2 separate regions of the Homo sapiens genome follow, and region 2 is linked to region 1. The links are contacts of gene promoters, found by promoter capture Hi-C in blood cells and fetal thymus (Javierre and others, 2016). All regions are on one chromosome and are shown on one strand. Each heading gives the region's core, a stretch centred on a gene start or on the middle of the fragment in contact. The rest is flanking DNA. Distances are from core to core; before and after follow the strand shown. Region 1 holds the start of OLIG2 (oligodendrocyte transcription factor 2). Region 2 has its middle 41 kb from the start of LINC01548.

Region 1 (3,489 bases), core at 635-3,134:
ACACCACGCTTCAGTTCTTCATGTTTTAAATACATATTTAACGGATGGCTGCAGAGCCAGCTGGGAAACACGCGGATTGAAAAATAATGCTCCAGAAGGCACGAGACTGGGGCGAAGGCGAGAGCGGGCTGGGCTTCTAGCGGAGACCGCAGAGGGAGACATATCTCAGAACTAGGGGCAATAACGTGGGTTTCTCTTTGTATTTGTTTATTTTGTAACTTTGCTACTTGAAGACCAATTATTTACTATGCTAATTTGTTTGCTTGTTTTTAAAACCGTACTTGCACAGTAAAAGTTCCCCAACAACGGAAGTAACCCGACGTTCCTCACACTCCCTAGGAGACTGTGTGCGTGTGTGCCCGCGCGTGCGCTCACAGTGTCAAGTGCTAGCATCCGAGATCTGCAGAAACAAATGTCTGAATTCGAAATGTATGGGTGTGAGAAATTCAGCTCGGGGAAGAGATTAGGGACTGGGGGAGACAGGTGGCTGCCTGTACTATAAGGAACCGCCAACGCCAGCATCTGTAGTCCAAGCAGGGCTGCTCTGTAAAGGCTTAGCAATTTTTTCTGTAGGCTTGCTGCACACGGTCTCTGGCTTTTCCCATCTGTAAAATGGGTGAATGCATCCGTACCTCAGCTACCTCCGTGAGGTGCTTCTCCAGTTCGGGCTTAATTCCTCATCGTCAAGAGTTTTCAGGTTTCAGAGCCAGCCTGCAATCGGTAAAACATGTCCCAACGCGGTCGCGAGTGGTTCCATCTCGCTGTCTGGCCCACAGCGTGGAGAAGCCTTGCCCAGGCCTGAAACTTCTCTTTGCAGTTCCAGAAAGCAGGCGACTGGGACGGAAGGCTCTTTGCTAACCTTTTACAGCGGAGCCCTGCTTGGACTACAGATGCCAGCGTTGCCCCTGCCCCAAGGCGTGTGGTGATCACAAAGACGACACTGAAAATACTTACTATCATCCGGCTCCCCTGCTAATAAATGGAGGGGTGTTTAACTACAGGCACGACCCTGCCCTTGTGCTAGCGCGGTTACCGTGCGGAAATAACTCGTCCCTGTACCCACACCATCCTCAACCTAAAGGAGAGTTGTGAATTCTTTCAAAACACTCTTCTGGAGTCCGTCCCCTCCCTCCTTGCCCGCCCTCTACCCCTCAAGTCCCTGCCCCCAGCTGGGGGCGCTACCGGCTGCCGTCGGAGCTGCAGCCACGGCCATCTCCTAGACGCGCGAGTAGAGCACCAAGATAGTGGGGACTTTGTGCCTGGGCATCGTTTACATTTGGGGCGCCAAATGCCCACGTGTTGATGAAACCAGTGAGATGGGAACAGGCGGCGGGAAACCAGACAGAGGAAGAGCTAGGGAGGAGACCCCAGCCCCGGATCCTGGGTCGCCAGGGTTTTCCGCGCGCATCCCAAAAGGTGCGGCTGCGTGGGGCATCAGGTTAGTTTGTTAGACTCTGCAGAGTCTCCAAACCATCCCATCCCCCAACCTGACTCTGTGGTGGCCGTATTTTTTACAGAAATTTGACCACGTTCCCTTTCTCCCTTGGTCCCAAGCGCGCTCAGCCCTCCCTCCATCCCCCTTGAGCCGCCCTTCTCCTCCCCCTCGCCTCCTCGGGTCCCTCCTCCAGTCCCTCCCCAAGAATCTCCCGGCCACGGGCGCCCATTGGTTGTGCGCAGGGAGGAGGCGTGTGCCCGGCCTGGCGAGTTTCATTGAGCGGAATTAGCCCGGATGACATCAGCTTCCCAGCCCCCCGGCGGGCCCAGCTCATTGGCGAGGCAGCCCCTCCAGGACACGCACATTGTTCCCCGCCCCCGCCCCCGCCACCGCTGCCGCCGTCGCCGCTGCCACCGGGCTATAAAAACCGGCCGAGCCCCTAAAGGTGCGGATGCTTATTATAGATCGACGCGACACCAGCGCCCGGTGCCAGGTTCTCCCCTGAGGCTTTTCGGAGCGAGCTCCTCAAATCGCATCCAGAGTAAGTGTCCCCGCCCCACAGCAGCCGCAGCCTAGATCCCAGGGACAGACTCTCCTCAACTCGGCTGTGACCCAGAATGCTCCGATACAGGGGGTCTGGATCCCTACTCTGCGGGCCATTTCTCCAGAGCGACTTTGCTCTTCTGTCCTCCCCACACTCACCGCTGCATCTCCCTCACCAAAAGCGAGAAGTCGGAGCGACAACAGCTCTTTCTGCCCAAGCCCCAGTCAGCTGGTGAGCTCCCCGTGGTCTCCAGATGCAGCACATGGACTCTGGGCCCCGCGCCGGCTCTGGGTGCATGTGCGTGTGCGTGTGTTTGCTGCGTGGTGTCGATGGAGATAAGGTGGATCCGTTTGAGGAACCAAATCATTAGTTCTCTATCTAGATCTCCATTCTCCCCAAAGAAAGGCCCTCACTTCCCACTCGTTTATTCCAGCCCGGGGGCTCAGTTTTCCCACACCTAACTGAAAGCCCGAAGCCTCTAGAATGCCACCCGCACCCCGAGGGTCACCAACGCTCCCTGAAATAACCTGTTGCATGAGAGCAGAGGGGAGATAGAGAGAGCTTAATTATAGGTACCCGCGTGCAGCTAAAAGGAGGGCCAGAGATAGTAGCGAGGGGGACGAGGAGCCACGGGCCACCTGTGCCGGGACCCCGCGCTGTGGTACTGCGGTGCAGGCGGGAGCAGCTTTTCTGTCTCTCACTGACTCACTCTCTCTCTCTCTCCCTCTCTCTCTCTCTCATTCTCTCTCTTTTCTCCTCCTCTCCTGGAAGTTTTCGGGTCCGAGGGAAGGAGGACCCTGCGAAAGCTGCGACGACTATCTTCCCCTGGGGCCATGGACTCGGACGCCAGCCTGGTGTCCAGCCGCCCGTCGTCGCCAGAGCCCGATGACCTTTTTCTGCCGGCCCGGAGTAAGGGCAGCAGCGGCAGCGCCTTCACTGGGGGCACCGTGTCCTCGTCCACCCCGAGTGACTGCCCGCCGGAGCTGAGCGCCGAGCTGCGCGGCGCTATGGGCTCTGCGGGCGCGCATCCTGGGGACAAGCTAGGAGGCAGTGGCTTCAAGTCATCCTCGTCCAGCACCTCGTCGTCTACGTCGTCGGCGGCTGCGTCGTCCACCAAGAAGGACAAGAAGCAAATGACAGAGCCGGAGCTGCAGCAGCTGCGTCTCAAGATCAACAGCCGCGAGCGCAAGCGCATGCACGACCTCAACATCGCCATGGATGGCCTCCGCGAGGTCATGCCGTACGCACACGGCCCTTCGGTGCGCAAGCTTTCCAAGATCGCCACGCTGCTGCTGGCGCGCAACTACATCCTCATGCTCACCAACTCGCTGGAGGAGATGAAGCGACTGGTGAGCGAGATCTACGGGGGCCACCACGCTGGCTTCCACCCGTCGGCCTGCGGCGGCCTGGCGCACTCCGCGCCCCTGCCCGCCGCCACCGCGCACCCGGCAGCAGCAGCGCACGCCGCACATCACCCCGCGGTGCACCACCCCATCCTGCCGCCCGCCGC
Region 2 (3,213 bases), core at 707-3,206, 100 kb after region 1:
TGAAGTCACAGAGCGGTCATTAAAATAACAAAGAGGCACTGGCCTTTTTCAAGCACCTTTCTGGACTTCTCCAAAGAAACCCTGCTGATGAGAGGGCACAGGGTTCATTAGCAATCATCTTGGGTCAGCTGATGACAGGAGTGAAGCCAAGGCTGGCACGGGCGACGACAGAGCAGGCGAGCAGAGTTGACCTGGGTTATTTTAGGTGAGGAGGTGGGCGCAGAGGGAGACAGAGAGGTGGAGGGAGTTTATTTTGGTTGAGGCACTTTATTTTGCTTTCTTGCTTGTGAGGATTCATTTCCCCTGGGTAATTTAAAGTTTGTAAGAACCTTGGAATTCCTTGGAGAGAAAGCACCATTGCAAATAAAGAGGCCACAGCACTAGTGATGGTGGAGAAAGTGGCCAATGCCGTATCTTTAGATGCTTGGGTTTTGGGTTGGGTAGAGTTTTTCGGCACGTTTGGGAAGTGGCTTCTTATATGCCCAGCTCTAGTTTGGGGGCTTCCCATGTGTTTTTGTGTCTAACATGTATTGTTCTCAGCACTGTGCTGATTTTCCATGTGTTCATTCATTTAATTCTCACAACAACCAAAATGCGTTAATTCATTCATTCTGAATCAACTTGTTTAATCAAGAGAATTTGACAATGCCCACCCCCTCTCCCTTGGAAAATAAGGGTTAGCCTAGCAGACTGCTCAGGGTCAGGCTTCTTAATCCCTTTCAATGCCATTGTCAATATATTGAACCCTATTCAGGAATCAGCAATGACTTTCCGTGCCTGCTCCATCAAGTCTCATTTCCTCTGCCTTGCTCAAAAAACCTTTTATAACCCTCTTTATAATGCTCCCACTTCCTCTTCTTCCAGCTGCACCTCTACTTCTCCAAACAAATGTAGAATCCCCATGGCAGTGAGTCGAGTGTCCTGGGTGAGGTGGGAGCTATTGTTCATAATCCATGTTGCTATTGCCCAGTAAGACACATTGCACCCCACAGAATATACCCATTGCCTTTTCTTCAACTTTGGGGGACATACCGAGTCTTCACTATACACAGAGTCTGCAGGTAGATAGAGATCTCTCAGTGGCTTTTCTAGGCAACTTGTTCCCGCTACCCCAGTAGGTATGGACATAACCTCAGCTCTCGACTCTCGGGGAGCACCATCTGGTCATCCATGTGAAAAGAAGAGACAACTCTACCCTGTTATAAAAACATGCCTGACACTTGGAAATAAAGCAAGGGAGGACTGCCCTTCAGTGCCAGCCTGGAGCACTCAGGGTCATCACATTCCCCAGGGGATATGCCTTTGCTTGACCCATTCATTATTGGGCCCAGATTCTGATGTTACATGTTAACTTGTAGATTTTTACAAAATAATTTCCCTTTTTCTTTTTTATTTTTCTTATTTATTTTATTATTATTATTATTATTATTATTATTATTATTTTTGAGATGGAGTCTCACTCTGTCGCCCGGGCTGGAGTGCAGTGGTGTGATCTCGGCTCACTGCAACCTCTGCCTCCCGGGTTCAAGAGATTCTCCTGCCTTAGCCTCCTGAGTAGCTGGGACTACAGGCACATCCCACCACGCCCAGCTAATTTTTGTATTTTTAGTAGAGACGGGGTTTCACCATGTTGGCCAGGCTCATCTCGATCTCTTGACCTCATGATCCGCCCGCCTCAGCCTCCCAAAGTGCTGGGATTACAAGTGTAAGCCACCGTGCCCGGCCTCCCTTTTGATTTCTAAATAATTTTAAAATTTTAGAAATGTTGCAAGAATAATGCAAAGACCTGTTTTTCCTAATTCACTTGAGTAATAAGTTGCTGACATGATGCCCATCACCCTAAAATACTTTAATGTGTATCTCCTATGATTGTGAAAGTCACCCACTTTCATGATCTAAATACAACCACCAAAATGAAGAAATTAACATCGGTACATACTATCATCTCATTCTCAAATGCCATCCACACTTCTCTAGTTGTTTCAATCTCACTAAACTTTTATAGGCAAGGGACCCAATCCAGGATTGCTCATCACACAGAGTTGTCCCATCTCTTTAGTCTCCTTCAATCTAGAACAGTTTCTATCTCTCATGACCTTGACACTTTTGACAATAATAGGCCAATTATTCCGTAGATGTTCCTTAGTGTAGGTTTTTCAGGTGATGCCTTATTATGAGGGTCAGGGATGTCTTTGGCAGAAACATCATCATAGAAGTGATGCTGGGTTCATCTTGTATCTGGCCAAGTGGCACACAATTTTAATTTACCCCAGTCCTGGTGACTTACATGTAAACGAAATAATGAAGGTGATGTTGTCCATGTGCCTCCGCTGTAAAGTTACTTTTTTCCCCCTTTGTAACATACAAGGATCTTGTGGGGAGGTACGTGAGCCTTTGCAAATATCCCATTCCTCATCAGACTTCACTCACTGTTTTTAATATCCACCAGTGTTTCTTCGTTGGATGATTATGATGGTTGCCAATAAATGATTTTCTAATTCCATCACTTTCCTAATATTTATTAGTTGGAATTAGTAATTTTTGTGTAGAGATAGGGTCTCACTATGTTGCCCAGCCTGGTCTCAAACTCCTAGGCTCAAGCAACCCTCCCACCTCAGCCTCCCAAAGTGTTGGGATTCAGTTGTGAGCCACTGTGCCCCGCCATATTAGTTAGAATTCTGCTTTTTCCACTTATACATTCATCTGTTTGTTTATATCGGTAGGAACTCAAGCGTACTTATTTTACTTATCAGGTGATACTCTGCTCCTATCGTTATTCATTTTTATGCCTCAATTATCCCAGTTCTGGCCGGTAGGAGCTCCTTCACTCTGGCTTCTGGGTTCTCCGGACATGTGCCTATAATTCTTTGAGCCCTTCTTTACTTCCTGGCACAAGACGTTCTAGCTTCATCTTGTACTTTCCCTGACTCCTCATCCAGCCTTGGAATTGACCATTTCTCCAAGGAGTTTGGGTTCCTTTAAGTGGGGACTTTAGGAACCAAGATCTGAGCACTGATGTATTGTCTGCTCCCGGGTGGCACTGTTCCCAGGCCCTCCCAGTGAACGGAACTAGGCTACATTTATATACGAGTTGACACTGACACTTCCAATTCCAGTCCAACACCAAAGGGCTTATTCTAGGATTTTTCCCTTCCACATGTGTAACTCCCTTCTTCATTGATGAGAAACCTGGTTCCCTCATCGACCTTAACA

What was found. The method cuts DNA at HindIII sites, captures the fragments that hold promoters and counts their contacts. A CHiCAGO score of 5 or more calls a contact.
Region 2: a fragment that was not itself captured here is called in contact with the fragment with the promoter of OLIG2 in region 1 in 3 of 17 cell types (M0 macrophages, M1 macrophages and megakaryocytes); the score reaches 7.3 in M0 macrophages.

What each region holds. Positions count from the first base shown.
Region 1 is chr21:33,024,051-33,027,539 of GRCh38, forward strand. OLIG2 (oligodendrocyte transcription factor 2) reads left to right here and starts at 1,885. Exons shown (of 2, transcript NM_005806.4): 1 at 1,885-1,976; 2 at 2,751-3,489. The coding sequence starts at 2,813. RefSeq lists an enhancer at 1,714-2,616. The HindIII fragment of the contact is 3,945 bases long and covers 1-3,245 here.
Region 2 is chr21:33,127,882-33,131,094 of GRCh38, forward strand. No RefSeq gene overlaps it. Among named protein-coding and RNA genes, the nearest start is that of LINC01548, 41 kb to the right of the region's middle. The HindIII fragment of the contact is 4,086 bases long and covers 1-3,213 here.